Linked DNA regions of Homo sapiens: region 2 is linked to region 1. The links are contacts of gene promoters, found by promoter capture Hi-C in blood cells and fetal thymus (Javierre and others, 2016). All regions are on one chromosome and are shown on one strand. Each heading gives the region's core, a stretch centred on a gene start or on the middle of the fragment in contact. The rest is flanking DNA. Distances are from core to core; before and after follow the strand shown.

Region 1 (6,590 bases), core at 2,517-5,016:
GTTCATGCTCACCAATTATACTCTTTAATCAAGCCAGAAACTTTTCCACTGTAGGTACTCAGGTCTCTGGAAAATCGACAAAGTTCATTCAGCTGAGACTTGAGATCCTCTGTTCTAGGCTCTGCTTTTTGCAAAGCATCCAGTATCTCCTGTTCAGAAATAATGAGACAAAGAAGCGAGCACTTACATTGGGTGATCTCCATATCTTCACACTATACATGCATCAATCATATTATAAATTATTAGTGAGAGAAGAACCAACATGGTAGATTCAATGAAGAAATGAAGCCTGTTTTCAGGATTCCTCTGACAAATAATAGCACCTGGCTCATTTGTCCCTTTTTTCTTGCCATGGATAGACACTCTAGCATCAAATACTGCAAAGTAGTTAAGTGATTAAGTGGTGAAATGACTTAAAAATAAGACAAGAAAAAGAAAAAATAGCCTACATTGTCTATAAATAGTTGGACTAGGCCATCAGGAGATATGTATATTGTTTAAAGGTGAAAACAAATTATTTTAAAGAAAAGCAACACTTATTTTGGATTAAATATATATATTAAGGGCCGGGTGTGGTGGCTCACGCCTGTAATTCCAGCACTTTGGGAGGCCGAGGAGGGTGGATCACCTGAGGTCAGGAGTTCGAGACCAGCCTGACCAACATGGTGAACCCCATCTCTACTGAAAATACAAAAATTAGCCAGTTGTGGTGGTGGGCGCCTGTAATCCCAGCTACTTGGGAGGCTGAGGCAGGAGAATCCCTAGAACCTGGGAGGTGGAGGTTGCAGTGAGCCGAGATCGTGCCATTGCACTCCAGCCTGGGGGACAGAACGAAACTCCGTCTTAAAAAAAAAAAAAAAAAAAAAAAAAAAAAAAAATATATATATATATATATATATATATATATATCTCCAAAATTGAATCCTGTTTCAATTGATTTTATGTTGTATATACAGTTAACTTTTACATTAAAAATTTCTTATAATCCATGAGTCTGGTTTAAATAGTAATTCATTTATTTCATAGTTTCATTCATAAAGTCATCAAATATTTGCTAAATGTTTACCGTGTGCCAAGCATTTTGCTGGATTCTGGGACCCAAGTCCCCCCACGAATAAAGGTAAGATTCTTGTTCTTGAAGAGCTCACAATTTAATAGATGAGGGAGACACATGAATAGCTACATTACTGTGTACACCCAATCCAAAATAAAGCCTTAGGACTTGAAAAGTACACCTCTGAAATCGAGGCCATGGTCATCTGAGTTACACAAGGTGCTTTGCACTCAGAGTGTTCCTCTCATAGGATTGTCACAAGGAACAAATGAAATCATGAATGTCAAATACTTAGCACAGTTCCTAGCACACTAAGTGTCTAATTCATAAAATCAGAAGGAGAATGACTCCCAAATATGTAAACACTGTGGATAACAGTAGCACTGAAGCAAAAAAACAAAATAAATTAAGGAGGAGGGGCAAAAAGATGAGTAACTACTCAAATAGCTTTGCTGTGACCATTATTGTCTGATATTTGTCAAGAGATGGCCCAGATTTGTAAAGAAACCACATCCCTCAACAAACCAGCCCTGTGCTTCATTCCTCGTCCTGGTAAATGGCACCACTGTCCCCCGCTGATGTCAATCAGAAGATTAAGCATCATCCGGGCCTCTCCCTTTGTTTCCTTTCTCACTCTATGCAAGAGATATCCAGGCTAGCTTATTCTGTGTCTTAGCTCCTTTCATCATTCCCCTCTTTGCCTCTGCACGTTGACTTTCACAGACCCACTTACATATTCATTATTTCTTTTGGGGGTGGCACTACATCCTCCTAATCTGATTCCTCCTCTCTAGGTTCCTCTCTTGTGTTTTCTGATTCCTCAATGATCCTGCATCTTGATGCTGTTCCTCTACCTCACCTGTCAGGTCACATTTTAATTATACCTCAAGACTCAACTCAAATAACAACTCCTTTAAGTACCCCCTGCCCTCCTTCCCACCTCTTCGGGTTTCTCATCTGAGGATACACAGGACCTTGCAGACATTCATCACAAGGAGTATCCACATTGGCTTTATGCTTGCGTATCTCCCCACCTAGGCTGTGATTATGAGAGCAGGAATGACATTCTCTTGGTTTGTCAATTCTTTATTTAACTCGGTGTCTGGGCTGGAGGAGTCTAAGACATTTTTATTTACAAAAATTCATCAACAACTAAACAATTTCTCTCTGAAATTCCAAACACTAAACTAGGACCAACTATTTTACACCATATGGAACCTTTTACTTAAGACAGAACATTGTAAGAACTAAAGAAACTTAGCATTCAACAAAAACATAAAAATACTGGAGATTCAAGTCAGTTACTTATGAATGGGATGACATTAAAAGTGAAAAGTTTTTGACCAAAACGTTACATTTAAAACATTTCTATAACTTCATCCTAAAGTATGTCAGTAGAGTCAATATATAAATATCAGCTTATGTATTTCTGATTCTGTTAAGTTCTAGAATGCATCTTTCCACCTTATACAGCTTAAGAAAATTATTTCCAAAGCTAATATCCCAAAGGATATTAAGATAAATGAGTTTCGCAAACATAGTAAATAGAATTATTTTTACAATATTATATTATATACTTTATAGATCATCTGTTTTTATGTTTTAAAGAATTTCTTGAGTATTGTCATCTAATTGCATAAAATAAATACTTTAATTCTTATTGTGATCATCAACAATGACAAGTCCTCCCTAAAAGCAAAACAATGCCCTAAGAACCCTAGCATATTTACTATTTTGTTAACATTTTCTTACATATTCATTGTGATAGAAATATCTCCACTTTTAGATAAAATGCCATTATTAGAAATAAAAGAAAACATGAATATTGAGAAGCAATGTAGCATTGTCATCAAAAGCATTGACCCTGGAGTCAAATCTGGAAGCAGACATACACAGAGGGCTGTCACATTTGAACTATTTAACACAACTGAAAACCCATATTTACTACTGCATTCTCATGTATATTTTTATAGGCCTCAACCATTATTTTTACTAATAATATCAACGTAAAAATAATGAACAGAATAGTAATGTAATCTAGGCACAGCCAAATCTTTCCTTTTTAAAAATTTCACTCTGTGACTGGAATAGAAAGAAAGGGAAAGAAAAAGGAACCAAGAAAGTGTAACTGATTTTTTCATATTATACCATGTAGAGCAATTATCAACTTCTTTGTCCCTCTGTGACAGAACTGATTTCTATGCTTTATTCTGGTACATAAATCTAAAGGACAGGAAATGGAACAGAATAACAAAAACAAACCCCCAAACCTAGAATCATTATAAATAGAGTAGCATAAAGAGGTAGAAAGCTTTATTTTATGGCATGCTGCATTTGTTTCAAATACTTGATTTAAAACCAGACACTGCTGGAAATACTACATGACTTTCTTACTGGCAGGAGCTATTTTGAAATGATTGTAATATAAATAGGAGCAGAGAAGTTTACTAAATTTCCTTTTAAGGACATCCATGAATCAGGGCATTATAAAACTGGAAATATTGAAAAGGCTTTCAAAGATACTGTTTAACAGTGAAAGAAACGAAGAAGAGGTTACACTCTTGCTCATTCTTCGGTCTCCCTTGTAGGCTTCCCTTTCTCACATTCTAAAGAAGCTGCCATTAGCTTCAAAAAAAAAAAAAAAGTCTCGGGAAGGTGACCAGGGAGGGTGACGTAGAGTTCTGTTAACAGGCTAATTCAAGAACAGCTGTCAAAACCACACAGAGGAGAGCTAATCGGGGAGATAACTATTTGCTGTGCTGTAGGAGATTACCAAGTGAGTCTTTTAAGGCTATAAATTCAATCATTTAGTTGTATGAAATAGTTAACTGGCAAGAAAACAGCTATGACTCTCTGTCTATTTATGCCCCTGCCCACAGGCCATTTTTCAGACTGAATGGCTGAATACAGTATTACAGACTCTTACACCATAGGAATGAAAGTAAAATGTCTCCACTAACAACAAATGTTTCCTACCGCAAATAATAACCCAAATCTTTATTTTTACAAAAGTTTGATATATAAGAAAAGGAAACAAATCAGACTTTGCTTATTTAATGAGATAAATACTTCTTCCAAGTGTGCATGTTGCGTGTTTTTAGTTAGCAAGATTTTTTTTTTAAGGAATGATGAAAGTCAAAACATTTTTTAAAGCATAACCACCAATAGAAAACAGGAAGCCAACTTACTTGTCCTTTGTGCCAGCATTCCACTATCTCCTCATCCGTGTTCTTGCCTTCCAGGAGGGTTAACTGCTGAGCCCAGGTTTTCAGAAGGGCACTGAACTGTTCCAGGGCCTGCTCCAGTTGAGCCACTTGGCCTGAGAATTCCTGCTCCGAAAGGGCCATCTGGCTGACCAGGTTCTCCAAACAGCTCTGCGTTTGGAATACACTGTCTTCCCACTGCTTCCAGTCGGCACGCAGGGCCTGCATCTCCGTGTGCATGAGCTCACACCCACTGGCAGTTGTGTTCTGTTTCACTTCGGGAGCCAGCGACTCCACTCTGCTGAGACGGCTTGCACCAATCTCTCTGGAATCTATCAGCTCCTGTAATGGAATATCACCATGGTAACTGAAGAGCCTGTGAGTCACTTGGACTGCAAGTTTTCAACTGTGTACACAGGGGGACCCTGTCCTGCCAGGAAGTTTTAACAAGTGTGCCACAAGGACCCAGAATCAATTCATCTGTCCACTCTTAAATTATAATAGCGGGAGTTGTCATCACGAGTGCCTAAGGCTTATGGCAAAAAAATCCCGAGAATCCTCAATATCCTGAAACAGACTAAACAGAGACCCTGAAATCAGGCATTATTCGCACACGTGAAAATGTTTAGTGACTCAAGTGTTTGCCTGTGGTGGATTGCTCCTGTGAATGATTAAACCCATATTTCCCTCAAAGTGGATGCTCAAGTAAATAAAGATCGTGGCAGAACTGTGTTCTGCTCACGGTCTCTATACTCAATTCATCTTCTTCAACAGGGTGGTGGCTTAAATCACACTTCCATTCTACTAGGAATCAAGCAGACTCATCACAGCAAAAGAATGAGCCCTACTCGATTCCAAATACCTCAATACTAAGTAAACATTTTTGTAGCATATAAAATGAATAATTCATTCATAGACTGACTTACTCAAAAGTTTAAAGTAACCTCTAGACTGAGTACATTTATTAGTATTTTTTTACCTTAAAAAAGTCACTAGAAATTTAACAGTTTAGCTATAGCCAAGTTAACAATTTAGCTCGATCTTAAAGCACACAAATACTGTAAAGGAAAACAAGATAAAATTAAATCACATTGTTAAATTGATATAATTGCAGCATTTCTGAGAATAGATTCTCTTACTAAAATTTTTCTTGGTGAAATAATCATCCGATGTTTATATATTTACATATCTATTGCTAAAGGCAGGATTTTGTTAATATTATTACAAAATTATGACTTTACTACCGGATTAAATAGAAATAAAAGATAATCAGGCACAAAAATGTTCAAGAAGAAAATCAATGACCAATTAGCAAGTAAAGAAACATTGGAATGTTAAGTATGAAGCATGCTTAATAAATTATGTTAAGCATAAAGTATGTCTTAACTAGTCTATATAATATAGTTTGCATCTCATTAAATTAACTTGAAATAAATATATCTGTTCATAATTATATACAATAGAGCCATATTTTAATATAGATCATTTGAAAGTATTTAGTATTCAGTTGTGCAGTAGTCTAAATTACAATGACATGAAAACCCTTACACACAGCATGATATGTATATTCAACCTTCTCAGCAGCAGGATTCTAAAAACCATCACTGTTTATTAGTGTGTATAGTAGTTATTTGATGAAGAAAAAAATCTAACTTTTTAACCAGTGCTATGTCTAACTAATAGACCTTAATACTTGTAATTATTTTGCCTTTGTGAGCAATTTCAAATTTGAAGTTTCCCAAAATACTCTCTTATGCTTTATCCCAATTTTCCTTAGCATGAAAATGGAACACTTCAATATTTGCAATCAGAAATCTAGTCATTCAGAATTTGAATAAGGACATCATCATTGTCAAGAGTTTTGAAATGGCTTTTGCATATATTTTCTTATCTTGTATTTACATTTTTAAACATATGATATACACATACACACATATGTACATTCCCGCCCTCACACCCATATACATTTTGCTTTAGAGTTGCCTTTTCTCAGTGATTATTCCTGTGGATGTGATAGGTATGGTGTTGAAGGACAGAGGAGGTGCTTTATGTATTTCCTCCAAGGTTTTTAAAACCACCCACACACTAACCTACATTCAGGCTGGACCTGAACTTCTGAGAGGCAGTTTCTGATAGTCTTCACTTTCTCCATCCCAATTTCTTTCTGCCAATTCCTTCTCCCATATTCCTTGTCTTTATGGAAGCACTTTATAAAGGCTTTCTCAATAAAAAAGAGTATTTGTCAACCCAGGAAGCAGCCTTTGTGAAAGAATTATCTTACTTTCTCTTATTTATTAACTTTTTGAAACATTAGTCCATTTCTGCTATCTCCT
Region 2 (6,590 bases), core at 3,828-6,327, 59 kb after region 1:
AGCTTTTCAATAGTCCTATTTCCAAAGAAATGTTCTTCTTACACTTAAAGGAGAGACACTGCAGTGATGCTTTCTATAGAAATACCTTTATAAACTGCATCTTATCAATCAAGACAGAGCTCGTGATCTCAATCCCATGCTGCCGGGCAAGAACTGTTTCTATTATTAGAGCTAATCCTGCGATGTATAATCTTTGTGACTTCAGCCATTTTCATAAATGTCTTATGGTCCTGATTCCAAAAGACATTTATAAATTATTGTACATGAGCACCCTAACTACTTTTAGACAACTTATAGGTTTTATTTGTAACAAATCTAGTGAACAGAATTTCAACTATAGATTTCTAATTTGTATTAGCTATGCATGTATAACCAGGTGACTATGGCTTTCAGTTTAGAAAAAGACTAAGAAACTAACAGTATATAATTGAACTAGTAAGTCCTTGGGTTAAAAAAAAAAAAAGTGAAAGAATGTCCCTGTTTACCAAAAGGCACTTGAAGACATCAAGAAAAATAGAGTGGCATCATTGACTGTCAAATTAAATAATATTGCAGTCTCAAATTTATACCCTGAATGTGCCTAATGCTGTCAGCAGTACAGGTAATGCAAGCTGTGTTATATTGCAACTTTTTAAATTAAATAAAGGTTAAAATGGCTATTCTTAATAGAAGTAAATTCCTTTCTAATAAACTCTGTTTTACTATTTCCATAACTTGATAGAGAATATTTAATGTAATATAAAGTCCTCAAAATTTCAAGTCATAATTTGTTTTAAATAAAATATGTATCAAATTTTAAAGTTTAGGCAAATGTAAAATGTTAATTTTAAGCTGTTAATAGTATTAAAAACACATTTTACATTTTAAAACCCACCTTAGAAATGATGGCCTGTCCCTTAATAATAATATGCTATTATGTATCATTGATTTGCCACTAAATTATGTTAAAAATAGAAATGTTTAGCCATATTGTTTTGAATAATATTGGCTGTATCCTCATATGTTTTTCCCCTCCAAACTTTTTTGTATATTTTGGGTATATAACAGGATATCAATAGGCCAAGCAGTTTTTTTTTTTCAGATAAACAAACATTAAAAGTTTAAAAATAAAATATTTTAAAGTTAATTTCTGGAAAGAGCATATTAGTCAGGATAACTTGAATACCGAGGCACTGTAAACAAGCTCCAGGAGCTTCTTCAGGTTGGAGATATATGGTCTATGTGATGTGTATTTAGGCCTGGAATCTACACTAACAAAATATCTCCTTTTCGCTCTAAATGGTGACAGCAGAATAATATAGTAAAAAAATTATTTTAAATATTAGTTCTTTTTCAAGATTCCCTCTACAATGTACAAAGGCCACAGAATAGAATAGATATGGCTTTCTCATGAACATGATCAGTTTAAGATGCAAAACCCACATCCTTTATATTTTTTGGGCTCTGTTATAGATATTGGTTTCTGTATTAGCGATACTTTCTTTTGAACTGTGAGTTGTTTCCTCAAAACATGCTGAAATACACAGACACTTTGAGATTTTAAAAGAGTGTTTTGAATACAAGGTACAGGAAAGATTGTATGAAACTTTATCTCAGAGAAGAAAGTTTAGGACTTGTCAATCACATACTCTTCTTCAAGCGTGTCTTCTAATTTTTTGACTTGTTCTTTGATTGACTTGGCCTGCTGTTGAAGCAGCTGCTTATTTTGGGGCCCAAGCGGTATCTCTGAAGCTTCCTTTACAAGGTTCTCAGCCTGGACTGCAATACTTTCTGTCCGTTTAGAAAACTCCTAGAAAAAATATTATGATCATTAGGTAGGCACTTTATATTATTTATCTCTGCCCTCAAATAAAGTGCACATATTGCATACAGAACAGATGGGTGGATGAAGACATAGAGTCATACATGTATGGATCTTACATTGTTCTTAACAATAAATCTGACTTATTTCCATATGGCCAAAATAGACACTTTGCTAACAGTTTTTTATTTTATTTCTTTTTTTTTGAGATAGGGTCTTGCTCTTTTGCCCATGCTGGAATGCAGTGGTGCAATCATGGCTCACTGCAGCTTCCAACTCCTGGGTTTATATGATTTTCCTACCTCAACCTCCTGAGTAGCTGGGACCACAGGCAGGCACTACCACATCTGGCTAATTTTCTGATTTTTGTACAGATGAGGTCTCACTATGTTGCCCAAGCTGATCTTGAACTCCTGGGCTCAAGTGATCCTCCAGTCTTGACCTCCCAAAATGCTGGGATCACAGGCAGGTGCCACCATGCCTGGCTAACTTTTTAATTTTCTATACACAACCAGCTATTTGCCTTCATAGTTTTCCAATAATACTCACAAAAATTGTTTCTCCTTTGTTTCCTGGTTTTGTCTCATTGTTTAGAATTCTTAGATCCATTATAATAATTAATTTATTCACAAATATGCTTACTTATTACAGGCCAGTTCACAAAATCAATAGTGATTGATCATAGACATAATAGATTTCTAGGCCAATGAATAGAAACATTTATTTATTTAATGTAATATCTTAGTCAAAAGAGACTATCAATGATCTTTGGCCAGGCATGACGGCTCATGCCTTTAACTCCAGCATTTTGGGAGGCTGAGGCAGGAGGATCACTTGAGGCCAGGAGTTTGAGACTAGCCTTGGCAAAATGGGAAGACCTCCATCTCTAGGGAAAAAAAAAAAAGTGACCAGGCATGATGGTGCATGCCTGTAGTCCTGGCTACTCAGGAGGCTGAGGTGAGAGGAGATAGAGGCTGCAGTGAGCAGGCATAATGGCGCCACTACATTCCAGCCCAGGCAACAGAGCAAGAATTTGTCTCAAAGAAAAAAGAGAGAGAGAAGTAATCAAGCCATTTTGTTAACTAGTTCTCTGAAAAGAGCTATAATCTAATCTTAGTGCTGTTAAATCTTATTTATTACATACACATGTATCACATGATGGAAAGAGAATATAAGTTTTGAACCAGTCAAGCCTGGGCTAGAATCCAGGATCACTAGTTGTTTGACTTTGGTGAATTATTTTCAGGCTCTTTCATGTAAAATGCAGATGATAATCCTTTTCTTAGAAGGTTACTGTTAGCATTCTATTAGCAATCTTACTTTTAAAGTGCCTAACACTCTTGGAGATACTGATTATTGTTTTTTATGTCTCTCATACAAACTTGAGGACAAAATGATTTATTAAGCCAATATACTTATTTTAAATATTTTAAAATAGTTGAAAATACTTATTTTCAACTATTTTAATTGAAAAGTTGATTTAGTATGTATGTGGCTGGTAAATATTAGATGTTACCTGAATTTTGTCAAGTAATTATATTGAATGCTGAATTAGAAAAGGTAAACCCAGTAATAACCTAAGTGAAGAAAATGTACTTGGTATCTCACTTCTTCTCATGTAAGAGAATCTCACAGGAGGTTTAAATTTTGATCAACTCCCTTCTCCTAAATGAATAATGTAGAAATATAAGTATTTTTCCAAAGTCAGCTTTTCAGTAAGAGCATCTCCTAGAACATAGTACCATATAAGATAGAGTTACTAAATAATACTATTATATCTTCATGTTTAAAAGACTTAATGTTCTCATAGAAATATCACGAGTTCGGCCAACAAATATCAGTGTTGGCCAAGATTGTGCCACTGCACTCCAGCCTAGGTGACAGAGTGAGACTCTGTCTCAAAAAAGAAGAAGAAAAAATCAATGTTACTTCAGAGAACTACGTTGCAATTTAAGAGAATAAAAATGAATAAGTACAGCTTCCTTATGGCATAGAGATTTATAGTACACTAAAATATGGTAGTTGCTAATGTCACAACATTAAATTCTTTGGATAAAAGCACCCACTGTTACTATATCTGACAGTCATGGTAGATTCAATTGTGGAGATTACAAATCACCACATGATCTCTTAGAATCCCATGAATATAATCAGAAGTGAAAAATAAAGTGTTTTATTTTTTTCTGCTAGTGTTTCTCAGAACCCAGGAAAAACATGGAAAAAGTAATGTTTGAAAATGCTTATATACATTCAATTTTAGAGCTTTTTATGTGAGCTATGTATGGAAAAAGCATAATGCAGAGAAATCGAAAGAGCAGAATGATGGTGATAAAAAAACAAAATTAAACAAAAACAGAATAACATTGTAAGGCCTTATCTCTAACTTCTTAGAAAACATATGAGTGGCAGGCAGCAGGATGCATCAGGTAAAAATTGACTCACATTAGATTGATCTGGGATGAAACCTAGGCTCCAACCTTCATTAGCTGAGTGACCTTTGGCCACATCTCTCTGAATTTTCCTTTCTTCATCACTAAAGCCATATCTTATTTTCAAGATTAAACATGACATTGCTATGAACCCTCTATCACACACACCAGTACACAGAGGACACTCAAGTCCCTTAGCATAACCATTCCTTAGCACAACTACTCAAGGGCTATCAACTTGAATAAAGGTTTGTAATAACAAAGCAAAATGAGCAAAGAACTACAGGAGAACAATGATTCTAGATTGGCAGTGAGCATAGGCAATTAGTAAAATGGCTCTGTTTTTTGAATGAAAAAATAACGTAGTGACTAAAGATGTGGGCTCTGGAAAAGGACCTTTTGGATTGAAATCCCAACCTCACTATTTAGTGATCCGCAGATCTTGAGTGAGTTCATCACCAACTTTGTGCCTTATGTGTCCTTCCTCATATAACACGATTGATAATGATACCTATTTCTTAGGACTGTTTTGAGGATTAAAGGCGATGATAAACATCAAATAATTAATTCGGCATATTATATGTGTTTGATAAATGTCACCTCATATTATTACATCAATCCCAAAGCATAGAAGACCATGGACAAAGGAGAATTTGAATAACAAGACTCAAAAGATTCCATTTGTTTCAATCTACAGGTACTTAAACTGATCCAAAGGAATTAGTGCAAATGGAATCATAGGGGGTCAGAAACTCTGGCTGGAACGTGGTCAGAAACATTTAGGAAATTAACCCAATAAACATCTTTGTATTTATAAAAGGCACCTGATACGTTTTTAATACACGAAATAATTTATTTATTTTTTAAAATAGAGATGGGGTATTGCTATATTGACCAGGCTGGTCTCAACTCGTGGCCTCAAGCAATCCTCCCATCTCAGCCTCCCAAAGTTTTAGGATTACAGGCATGAGCCATCGTACCCGGCCAAATAATTTAAATTAAAAATTAAAATAATGTTCTATTTAAATGACTGATGAATATCGTATAGACTTGAAAGAGTCTGTGGTCTTAGAAAACTTCAAAATCCTCAGTGAGTTTTTAGGAGAAACAAAAAATTAGCAGTATGGGAGAGAGTGAAGCCTTTTGCAGGTAAGAAAACAGAAACACAAAGGTTTTCTTGCTAAAGGCTAGGGAAGGGTGGGCACAAGGCTCTTCTTTCTAAGACACCGGTTAGTTCATTTCTCTACTAATTCAGTCTTTCTATAAACCCCAAAGAGGCACCACAGGAACTTCAATGCTTGGTACAAATTGGTTGGTCTGCTTAGAGTGTCCAAGGTGTTTGAGCTTGTAGGGTTGGGTTCACCAAGTACACCTACTAAATACGGTCTGTTTGATGCCCCATTGGAGTCTCAAAATCGCTACCTCCAAAATGAAGTTGGTCATCTTTTCCCATGAACAACTTCTCGTTCACATCCCCCATCTCACTTCCATTGTCTCCGTCAGACTCAAAACCTCAGGTATCAACATTTTCGTCACTCACTCTGTCTGGTTAGTTTCCCTATCTTCCTGTGAACTCCACATCTTTTGTATCTGTTTCTGTGTAACACCTGCCACCCCACCGCCCTTATTTATGCCCATATTAACTCCCATATGCCCATATGCAATAACTTAAATGGATCCCATGACCCCAGTCTTTCACACTTTCAGTCACTTTTCTACACCTGCCTAAAAATTCATCCAAAGCCCAGCTCTGATCGTGTGGCTTTTCCTTTTAAGCCTTCAACAAGTCTGGCTCCATGTTGCCTAGAAAGTAATGCTTTAGGTCTTCAAGACTCTGAAATATGGGCCAAATTTCCTTTACAAATTCATTTCCCATTGTTCTATTTTACAACACAGAATTCCTATTCAGAACACTTGTATGCTCTATGCCATTCCACCTTCCAAAGAATGTCTGTATTTTGCTCCAAACTCTACTAAGTTTTACTGACCTTTAAGGTTCAGTTAAAAAATATTATTGCCTCCAGATTTTTTTTTTTTTTTTTTTGAGATGGAGTCTCACTCTCTTGCCAGGCTGGAGTGCAGTGGTGCCATCTCGGCTCACTGCAACCTCTGCCTCCCGGGTTCAAGCGATTCTCCTGCCTCAGCCTCCCGAGTAGCTGGGACTACAGGTGTGTGTCACCATGGCCAGCTGATTTTTGTATTTTTAGTAGAGATGGGGTTTCACCATGTTGGTCAGGATGGTTTCAATCTCTTGACCTCATGATCTGCCCTCCTCAGTCTCCCAAAATGCTGGGATTACAGGAGTTGAGTCACAGCGCGCGGCCTGCCTCCAGATTTTAAAAACTCTATACACATCTATT

What was found. Contacts are between HindIII fragments. The CHiCAGO score rates a contact against its expected background, and 5 or more counts as called.
Region 2: a contact is called between a fragment that was not itself captured here and the fragment with the promoter of SYNE1-AS1 in region 1, in 1 of 17 cell types (neutrophils). The highest score is 5.2, in neutrophils.

What each region holds. Positions count from the first base shown.
Region 1 is chr6:152,376,764-152,383,353 of GRCh38, forward strand. It overlaps SYNE1-AS1 (SYNE1 antisense RNA 1), which reads left to right and starts at 3,767. Exons shown (of 2, transcript NR_120501.1): 1 at 3,767-3,830; 2 at 4,297-4,950. It overlaps SYNE1 (spectrin repeat containing nuclear envelope protein 1), which reads right to left. Exons shown (of 146, transcript NM_182961.4): 56 at 4,243-4,599; 57 at 13-149. The HindIII fragment of the contact is 6,155 bases long and covers 3,364-6,590 here.
Region 2 is chr6:152,434,313-152,440,902 of GRCh38, forward strand. SYNE1 (spectrin repeat containing nuclear envelope protein 1) reads right to left here. Exons shown (of 146, transcript NM_182961.4): 33 at 1,629-1,789. Among named protein-coding and RNA genes, the nearest start is that of SYNE1-AS2, 35 kb to the left of the region's middle. The HindIII fragment of the contact is 6,697 bases long and covers 1,730-6,590 here.